Linked DNA regions of Homo sapiens: all the other regions are linked to region 2. Evidence: promoter capture Hi-C in 16 types of primary human blood cells and fetal thymus (Javierre and others, 2016). All regions are on one chromosome and are shown on one strand. The core of a region is centred on a gene start or on the middle of the fragment in contact, and the rest is flanking DNA. Distances in the headings are between cores, read along the strand shown.

Region 1 (3,546 bases), core at 130-2,629, 520 kb after region 2:
AATACCATTGTTTTTAAATGCATTTATTTTCCATTTTTAAAAATGGATTTTCAAAGGGCCGTGAAAGCAAGCATATAGCTTTAAAACGGTGGTTCTCAAAAGTGTGGTGCCTGAACCAGCACTTTGAGACCTTTTTTCAGAAATGTACATTTCCAGGCTCCACCCAGACAAACTGACTCTCTGGGGGATGGGGCCCAGCCATCTGTATTTAATAAGCTTGAGACCAGTGCTTTAGAAGAACCTGAAGTTGATTGATAAGTATGAGTTTATAGGTTTTGCCTTTAAAGAGGTTCATGTGTAAAGTTTCCCACTTTATATCAAAATGAAGTTAAAAGCCAGCCGCAAACATTACGTTTAGGTCCTTCAACTAGCAATAACCGAGCATCTATTTTGCTGGGCACTGGGTGTTATCTCATTTAATCATCAACCATGTGACAACCTTGTGAGTTAGACACTATTATCCATATTTTTAGAGGTGGAAAAATTAAATGCCAGAGAGAAAAGGTCAAATTTACTCAGTAACAGTGAAGCCAAGACCCAAACTCCGGTGAATTTAATCCTTGGCTTTTTGTCCAATTGTGCCAGCATGTGTATGTGTGTATGCATTTGCCTACATGCATGTGAGTGATTTGTGTGTATTCGTATGTAAACAGATAAGAGTAATGAAGTTTTCATATATTTGATATGGCAGTAAGAAAATCTGTGTATCAATCCACAAGAATAGATAACTTGAGTTTGCAAAACGGTTTAACAATTCTGCAACCTACTCAAGAGAACATGTAGAAAATTAAAAGCAAGCCATCTACATACAGTTCTAATCAAATATGAGGATTCCAGCATTCGTGCCACCAACATTTGAAGACCAGTCCCTCCTCCCCCATTCCAGTCTCATACTGCCTTAATATCTTAGACAGACTCTACTGGCAACCCCTAGTCTATTGTTCTAAACATAGGAATTATAAGAATGCAAGTTGATTTACAAATATATTCCAAATGATAGGGTATCACAAAAAACAATTTAGCCAGTCATCTGAATTCAATTTAGCAGAAAAATCTGAGCTTATAAACTGACCTGCCTCCACAGCTAGGCAACACTATGGCCACGCATTTGGGACACAGTCTCCCTCCACCAAGGAGCTCCCCAGGCCCTGTACAGCCCCTTGCCCTGCCCGAACCTCATCGTCACAGACAGTCTACCCTCACACACTGTAAGACCCACCCCCACAAACCTAGAAATCAAATGAAAAACAACAAACTGCGGAAAGTGAATATATTTTAATGGAGTAGGATATCACTGCTATAACTGGTAACTAGAAAATATGTAGAAATATCAGAACACGTTTAGGACAATGTCAAGAGAACAAGTACAGTGGGGCATACACTATGAATACAACGATATAAAAATATATTGTCACAAATAGACAGGGACTAGAAGATATGACAAAAATTGCTACCTGGGGACGATGGAGACATTGATCTTTTTATGTTAAATGTTCTTTAATAACCGTGTCATGGCATGTTCTAGACATCATGCCTACCAGTGCCCACTAGGCAGGAGAGGAGCTGCCTCCTGCCCACATCTCCCCTCTCACGGCCCCATGGGTCCCTCGGCCCTGCTCCACCCCAGCCGATTCCTCTGCCTTGAGACCTCCTGGAACATCACTTTCTGGAGAGGCTTCTCTGACCACCCTGCATCTTCCTTGCAGAGTCTCTCACACAGCCTGCACTTCTCCGGCACTGTACATACCCCAACTTCGCATTACACTTTTAGTTGGGAAATTATGAACTCCATTATAAGCTCCATGAAATAAAAGGGTGTGTTTACACCACTCTACCCCCAGCCCCGAAGTACTCAGCACGTAACTGCTGCTCCAAATTACTGACAAATAAATGGTTTTCACAGCCCTGCCATTCAGACAGCACTCGCCTCCCAACACACACACACACACACACACTACACACTCACCACATACTCTCACCATACACAGTCACCACACACAATACACACTCACCACACATACACCACACACACACACACCCCTTCATCACACACGTACCACACACAACTCACCCCCCACAGAAACACACACACCACACACAACTCACCCCCCACAGAAACACACACACCACAGACCACTTACCCCCCACAGACACACACACCACACACACAGAGTAGCACACATGCACACCACATGTCCTTCTACTCCTGTATTTTATTGATGAGTCTCTCTTTTTCCCACCATTCAGGGTAGAAGTTTCCACGCCATCCACAATTCCTCACTCATCCCTCTACTGAGAACTGGTGGCCAGTGTCAGCCAGGTTTCCTTAATGAACACCCTCGACCCCATGACTGTTCAATGTCTGTCTTCCCTGTCAGACTATTAATGCCGTGGGAGCCAGGGTCGGGTTTGATCATGTGCTCAGCACGTCAACCTCCAAAAAATGATGAATGTTAAGTTGAACTAAATTAAGTAATTGTGTTTTGTATTAGTTTACACTAGCATGAATGTCTTGCTGCCCCAAATACAGAGCCTAAAGAAAAAAGCTTATACTGTTTTGTTTGTAATACTCCTTTATCATGGATATAAAAGTCTAATTTCAGGAGCTATCTCAGAAATTCACTATTACCTCATGAATATCATCAGACCCACCACACCTGATGTGATGACAGACACAGATACGGCAACCGAGAAAAAACAAGTCGTGTCAGAAACACTGACCACAAGTGTGCTGTCAAACATCTCAAAACAGTTGCACTCGAAGCCTTTTAAAATGTAAGAGCTGCAGACAATTACGCTCTCTCCCAGCTCCTATAAGCAGACAAGGAGGGCTGAGCACATCCTATTTATAGTCAAGCCAAATCCAAGCAAGTCCTCAGCTCCTGCAAAGTTGCATGTTTTCCCAGCTTCAGGGTTCAGGAACTAGAAGTCTTGCTGCTGCTGCCACCTATTGCAGGAAATGTGAATCTAGGTTCAAGAAAAGCTGGATTGTCGAGTGGGCCCTGCTGTCTCGCAGTGACGTGGATGGAATCATTCTCTGAACTCACTGCAGTTGTCTAGTATTTCCATTCATGCTGAGCACCAAATTAAGGTCATCCACTGTTAAAATGTATAAGCCAATGCTTGCTGATGTGATATATATGAGAATGCCTAAAAATTTTGGCCCAGGAGTCAGCACTCAGTAAATGCTTGTTGCCTGGATGACGGACACAAACCAGATAGAAGTGGCAATGGTAACATGATCAACTTTTAAAGCACCTTTCTCTTGAGACCTGAAGCCCCACACAATGACCTGGCCGCCTACTGTGCAAAAGCTGTATCAGTGAGCACAGATGCTCAGGGAGGAGGAGCATCTCACCTGGCTTTGGTACTGCCTGAGAGGGTGCTGCTGCCTTTGGGAGCATTTGTTTTGGTGCTATTTCGTTTCATGCCCTTCAAGATAAAATATTTCTGACTTTGGGAATGCTGAAAAATAAGAGAGCAATGGGGTTAGCACAGATTGGCGGACAGATTTTCTTATTCGGCCTATGCAAGCTACAAGAATGG
Region 2 (3,537 bases), core at 900-3,399:
GAACTCCTGGGCTCAAGCGATCCTCCCACCTCGGCCTCCCAAAGTGCTGGGATTACAGGTGTGAGCCACCACGCGCAGCTTAAAACTTTCTTTTGTAAGAGTGTTCAAGGGCAGTAACAGAGGTGATGGGCTCCAGCTCAGATCCCTCAAGCTGCAGGGGGTGCTCTGTAAGGCTGGCCCGCTCCCTCTCCCCTGCCTGCTGGCTCCTCACCTGGAGCCCCTGCCCTGCCTCGTTTCTTCCCCGTTCCTCTCCCTTGATTCCTGAAATTTCCCAGGCTGGTCACTAGGTGTCACCGCAATCAAGTTTTTCTGCCCCCACGGACCTGAGGTCTTGCACCAGAGAAGTCAAGAGTCAAGAGACTCACTCACCTCCTGAGCTTTACTCCCTCAAGGCCCGGGAGGCTGGAGGTGTCCTTCTTTCCTCCCTCAGGTTGCCAGGTTTAGCAAATAAAAATACAGGACGCCTCATTCAATCTGAATTTCAGGTGGACAATCAATACTTCCTGAGTATAAGTATGTTCAAAAGTTGCATGGGTCATACTTATAATAAAAAAAATTACTTGTTTATCTGAAATCCCAGTTTAAATGGGCACTCTGTATTTTATCTGGCAACCCTGCCCTGCCCTCCACAGGGACCCTAAAGGAAGCCATGGCGGACGGACAGGCTGTCTAGTGCCACCCTTAGCTCCTACTGCCAGAGAGCTCAGGCAGGTGCCCAGGCCATGGCCTGCCACGAACAGGGAAAAGGTCTGTTTTTCCTTTCCAGCAGGTGACGAGATGGAGGGCGCCCAGGCATGGGGGCCAAGGTGGTAGCATCCCAAAAGTGTTCCCACAGCAGCCCTGGGAACCCGGAAGGAGACAGTGGTAAGAGCACTGTGGACACACGAACAGGAGGATCTGTAAGGCTGTGAGCAGCGTCCCCGAGCCCCAGCCAGTGACTCTCCACCACTGTCCACCCACATGCCGCAGAAAGGAGCAGGGGCTGCAGAGCCACAGCCTGGGGCTGGAGTCCCGGCTGCGTCACAAGCAGTGGCGCTCACTTCCTCTCCCTCAGCTGTGCATGAGGGGCGGCAGCGGGTACTTCTCATGGCCCTTCGAGGACAAAAGGGGCTCATGGGCTCGGGGCACAGTAGGTACGTTTGGATCATCGGCAGGTACAGCCACTTTGGGGACATAAGCCAATTCCCGCCACCGACTCAAACTTAGTCTGGTGACTTGTCGCTGCACTCAACAGACAAACGTGTGGGCGATCTGTGATGTGCCCTGGGGGCACAGGAGTCAGGCGCTCTGTGATGTGGAGGCGAGGCTGGGCAGCGGGAGGGAAAGGTGTTCTGGAGCAGGAACAAGCCCATGCAGAGGCCTGGGGAGTGAGGCTGGGGGTCTCTGCGCTTCTGACAGACAAACTGGGGCTGGAGAGGCCTCGTGGAGAGAAGCCGGCAGACCTGCAAGCTGACCAGCTGTGGAAGGGAGCAAGGTGGGACAGCAGTGCAGGACCCAGCAAACCACGACGCGCTGGGCGTCCCTCTCCTGGCGGTGGGCTGGGCACACTGCTCTGCACGAGGGGTGTGAAGGCACTTTGTGAACGGATGATGCACACACTTCGGGCATGAGTCCCTCATGAGATGGTCTCATCTCCTCTACACTCCCATGCGGCATGTTTTCCTCTGCACCCTGCCCTGTGTGAGACGTGAGAAACACAAGGATGACTTAAACACATCCCTGCCCTTCTTGGGAGCTCATGGACTGGTCCTGCAGTAGAGGGCTGAACCATTTCAAACACATGAGTGCAAGTAAAGAGGAAGACGTGCACGCCTGCCTAAGAGTCAGAGACAGCTTCAGAGAGGAGGTGAAAGTGCGCTGGGTTTTGATGGATGACTAAGAGTTCTCCAGGAAGGGAGGGGAATGGGAAATGGCAGTAAAGGCAGAGGATGACACATACCGAGGTTGTAATCAGTAAAGGGCACGTGTGCCGTAACAGGGAGAACAACAGGCAGATGGGGAGGAACCAGGAGAGAGGAACTGGACTGTGGGAGGCCTTGGGAGGCAGGAAGGCAGCAGTGCCTGACAATGGAGGAACTCGGAGGGGGGCGGAGAAAGCGCCCCGGCTGCAGGATGCAGGAGGGAAGGGGGATGAGGCGGAGGTAGGGACACCAATTAGCAACCACAACCTTTGAAGAAGGCAGGGCAACAGGGGTGAGGAAGCTGGCTGGGTTTGGGAGGTGAGTAGAGCTCGGACGTGGGATCCGGTCACACTAGGATGTGGGAGCCACACAGGGGAAGGGTGAAGGCAGCACCCCAGCGCTGGTGCCCCACTGATGGGGGACGCGCTAGGAAGCACAGGTCTGGGAGGATGGGAAGATGCTGCGTTTGGTTTTGGGCAGGTGGGAATTCTGTAGCTGGGGTCCCCGTCTAGGGGACAGTTGGTACTGGGGTCAGAGCTGGAGAAGTGGCCACTGCTGGTCAGCAAGGAGACTCAAGAAGCTTAGGGGAGAGCTAGGAGAGGGCTGAGGCAGAGGAGGAGCCAGGATCGGGGGCTGAGGAGGAAGGGAAGAAGTCCCATGGGACGTACATGCTGAAAGAGTCTGGTGACATAATCAAGCAGCCACCAGGCCGGGAGACAAAAACCCACCTGGCTGGCCTCAGGCGGGTGACGAGGACCTGGGGAATGCTGCGGCCAGGGGTGGCCAGGCAGACGTCCCACCAGGAGATTGGCCTTGTGGCCACAGTCACAACCCAATTTCCCTAATGAGGCTAGGGAGGGCTCACACCACTCCCTAATGACCCAGGATGACCTCGGCTGCTTCCCCACTCTGCCAACCAGGCATCTGCCCGGTGGTTTCCGAACCCACACTCCAGATCTGCATGACTTTCCATGCGTAGGGCCTGTGCCCACAAACCCCAGGTGGGAAGCCAGGCTGTGGGCTACGGTGTAGGGGGTGGGCACTGGTCTGGAGCCTAGGGGCCTGGGACAAGTTCCAGCTCTGCCCCCAACATGCTAAGTGACCTCTGACAGGACACATGGTGTTTCCAGGGCCTCTGCTACTTCACTCTAGAACAGGCGTGCAGGCCAGCTTCCCTCCAGGGCAGCATGCTTTCGGTTCTCACGCACGTCAACTCCATGACCTCGCCTCAGCTTTTCCTGACTGCCTGCTCCCTACAGACCCCAGGCTGGACACTGGGGGGCCAGCGGGTCCTTGTGTCCAAGGGCATATCCTCACTTGGGGGAGAAAGGCCCGGGAGCAGAGACATGAGAGACAGGGCAGGGAGGCTGAGGGTGGAGGCCGAATGAGACAGAGGCAGGGATGCGTAGGTTCCACCTGGGGGATCAGGAGGTGTGCGGGGAAAAGGTGTAGAGGGTTCTCAGTGAGCGATGGTCAGTCAGGATGAGCGGGAGTTCCAGACAGAGGGAGCTGTGTGGGCAGAGGCCGGGATGAGAAGTTCACTATGGCTGGTTCATGACATGCCAAGCAAGGACAGGCTGCAGAGAACCACATTCCTCTCAGGAGCCATGGGAAGGTCTTGAGTGGGGAATGACAG
Region 3 (3,426 bases), core at 642-3,141, 590 kb after region 2:
GGACATTCCGAGCACCCAGCCTTTATTCAGAATAATTAGGCCAATGGCAAAAGGGCATCTAGCCAAAAGCTAGAGGGATTGAGTGAATGAATGAATATCCTGATGTTTCAGGTGAGGGTTCTCACTGTGGGAGAAGGAAAATGTAAGTGGGGAATGCGAGAAGGCAGGGAAGAACTCTATGGTATTGGATTGGAATTGGAGGTATTGACATGAGTTTATGATATTTTAAAATTCCTATTTCTTATATTTGCTGGAAAAGCCTTTAGGCAGTGATATCTCAATAATACTAGGCATACCCACTGCCCAGATCTTTGCTAAATACTTCCCTCACCAAATGAACCTGGGGTTTCTTGGAGAAAAAGCCAACTCCAGGGCAAGGAAAGTACAAGATGAGCCTAAAATGTCTTGTTGAGTCTTGAACTCCTGCAAGTTCAAAAATGTTGGGAATAGGTCAGAAGGACACAGGGTATAACATGAAAGTATTATCATAGGTCAAATCGGAAACAATTTGAGCATGTTAGACAAAAATGGGAAAAAACCCACGTACCCAACAGTAGAATAGATAAATTGCGATATATTCATACAATGGAATACAGTAATTTTTTTAAAAAAGGAATGTAACTGAGAAGAATGTCACAGTCAAAATGATGAACAAACTAAGTCAAGCACAAAAAATGGTATGTCATATGATTCTATTTATATACAGTCAAAACCAAGCAAAACTGATCTATAGTGATAGAGGTGAGAATAGTCTTAACCTGGGGCATTGGAAAGAGGGTTGACTGGGAGCAGACTCAAGGTTACCTACCCTCCATAGTGTTGGAAACATCATAGCTTGCTCTTAGTGGCGGTTACATGAAGATATAGACATAGATAAAAGTACAGACATGGACATAGATGCAGGCCTTGCTTCACGGATACGCAACCAGGGGAGTCACACAGGGTTCTGTGCTCAGAAGGGCCCCACACTTTGGAATTTAATGGTCTGTGGTCACTATCTTGAAATTGTTGCATTTATCTTTGGGTTTGTTTTGTAAGTGAGGTCTGGTCAAAATTAGCTGGGAGTGGTGACACGCACCATAATCCCAGCTACTCAGGAGGCTGAGGCAGGAGGATTGCTTGAACCTGGGAGATGGAAGTTTCAGTGGGCTGAGATTGCACCACTGCACTCCAGCCTGGGTGACAGAAAAAGACTCCGTCTGAAAAAAAAAAGCCATAATGGACATTAATGAGATAATTTGCAATATTTGAATATAGACTCTAGATTAGATGATATTCTATTTTAAATTTCCTAAATTTGAAAACTGCACTGTGGTTATGTAAAAATGTCCATTTGCCTCAGAGGTACATGTGGAAGTATTTGGGGGTGAAGAATCATGATGTCTGCCACTTACTTTCAAATGGTTTTACAAAAATAAAACCACAATTATAACCCTAATGCAAGCACATGTATGTATACACATTGAGAGCGAGAAAGAAAATGTGGGAAAAGCCACAATTGGTGAATGTAGGTGATGATATATGTTCATTATGTAGTCATTTTCTATTTTGCTATAATGAATTACCACAAACTCAGCTCTGTAAGTCAGAAGTCTGATGCTGGTACCACTAGACCAAAAGGAAGGTGTCAGCAGGGCTAGCATTCCTTTCTGGAGGATCCAGGGGAGAACCTATTTCCTTGCTTTCTTTAGCTTCTAGAAGCCACCCACATTCTCTAGCTCATGGTCTCTTTCCATCTTCAAAATGGCAGACACAGTCTTTCTCACATCGTATCACTCTTTTTGTTTACTTGTTTATTTGAGACAAAGTTTCACTCTTGTTGCCCAGGCTGGAGTACAGTGGCACGATCTCGGATCACTGCAACCTCCGCCTCCCAGGTTCAAGCAATTCTCCTGCCTCAGCCTCCTGAGTAGCTGGGATTATAGGCATGCACTACCACGCCCGACTAATTTTGTATTTTTATTAGAGACAGGGTTTCTCCATGTTGGTGCAGCTGGTCTTGAACTCCCGACCTCAGTTGATCCACCTGCCTCGAACTCCCGAAGTGCTGGGATTACAGGCATGACCCACTGCGCTTGGCCATATCGCTCTTACATTGACTCTTCTTCTGTCTCCGTCCTCCACTTTTAAGGACCCTTGTGATTACATTGTACCCACCCAATAATCCAAGATAATCTCCCTATTTTAAGATCAGCTGATCAGCAACCTTAATTTCATCTACAACCTTAGTTTGACTTTGACATATAATATAACATATTCACAGGCTCCCAGGACTGGAATGTGGACATCTTTGGAGGACTGTTATTCTGCCTACCGCAATTGCAGTAAACTTTTCTATACATTTAACTTTTTTTCAGAATAGAAACCTAAAGAAAAACCTTTATTAACAGAAAATCCCTAGGAATTTGCAAAAAGGCTGCTAGAACTAATAAGTGAGTTTAGCAAGGTCATAGGATACAAGGCCAACAAATAAAAACAATCCTATTTATACATACTAGCAACCAACAATTGGGAATTGCAGTTTCAAAAATACCATTTTTAATAGCATTGAAAACTATTAAATACTTATAATATATGTAGGAAAATATGCACAAGATTTGTGTAGCAAAACCTACAAAACATGAGTGAGAGAAATGTTTTAAAACTTAAAGAAATGGAGAATTATACCCTGTTAATGGATTCAGCATTGTTAAGGTGCCCATTCTGCCCATTCTCACTTTTTTTTGTTTGTTTGTTTGAGACAGAGTCTCACTCTGTCGCCCAGGCTGGAGTGCAGTGGCGCGATCTTGGCTCACTGCAACCTCTGCCTCCTGGGTTCAAGCAATTCTCCTGCCTCAGCCTGCTGACTAGCTGGGATTACAGGCATGCATCACCATGCCCGGCTCATTTTTTTGTATTGTTTTTAGTAGAGACAGGGTTTCACCATGCTGGCCAGGCTAGTCTCAAACTCCTGACCTCGTGATCTGCCTGCCTCAGCCTCCCAAAGTGCTGGGATTACAAGCGTGAGCCACCGTGCCTGGCCTCCTCACATTTATCTATAGAGTCAGTGCAATTCCAGGTAAAATCCCACTGGACTCTGCTGTTGAAATTGACAAGCTGACTCTAAAATTTATATAGAAAAATAGGCCAGGCGCGGTGGCTCACGCCTGTAATCCCAGCACTTTGGGAGGCCAAGGCGGGCGGATCATGAGATCAGGAGATCGAGACCATCCTGGCTAAGACGGTGAAACCCCGTCTCTACTAAAAATACAAAAAATTAGCCGGGCACGGTGGCGGGTGCCTGTAGTCCCAGCTACTGGGGAGGCTGAGACAAGAGAATGGCGTGAACCCGGGAGGTGGAGATTGCAGTGAGCCGAGATTGTGCCACTGCACTCCAGCCTGGGCGACAGAGCGAGACTCCATCTCAAAATAAATAAATAAATAAAT

What was found. Contacts are between HindIII fragments. The CHiCAGO score rates a contact against its expected background, and 5 or more counts as called.
Region 1: a fragment that was not itself captured here is called in contact with the fragment with the promoter of SCUBE1-AS1 in region 2 in 1 of 17 cell types (megakaryocytes); the score reaches 5.1 in megakaryocytes.
Region 3: a fragment that was not itself captured here is called in contact with the fragment with the promoter of SCUBE1-AS1 in region 2 in 1 of 17 cell types (endothelial precursors); the score reaches 5.8 in endothelial precursors.

Annotation. Positions count from the first base shown.
Region 1 is chr22:43,793,887-43,797,432 of GRCh38, forward strand. All of the region lies in intron 2 of EFCAB6 (EF-hand calcium binding domain 6), which reads right to left. Among named protein-coding and RNA genes, the nearest start is that of EFCAB6, 17 kb to the right of the region's middle. The HindIII fragment of the contact is 2,330 bases long and covers 215-2,544 here.
Region 2 is chr22:43,273,793-43,277,329 of GRCh38, forward strand. It overlaps SCUBE1-AS1 (SCUBE1 antisense RNA 1), which reads left to right and starts at 2,150. Exons shown (of 2, transcript NR_134582.1): 1 at 2,150-2,219. The region is part of intron 4 of SCUBE1 (signal peptide, CUB domain and EGF like domain containing 1); the gene reads right to left. The HindIII fragment of the contact is 3,024 bases long and covers 1-2,479 here.
Region 3 is chr22:43,864,125-43,867,550 of GRCh38, forward strand. No RefSeq gene overlaps it. Among named protein-coding and RNA genes, the nearest start is that of SULT4A1, 3.3 kb to the left of the region's middle. The HindIII fragment of the contact is 3,844 bases long and covers 1-3,426 here.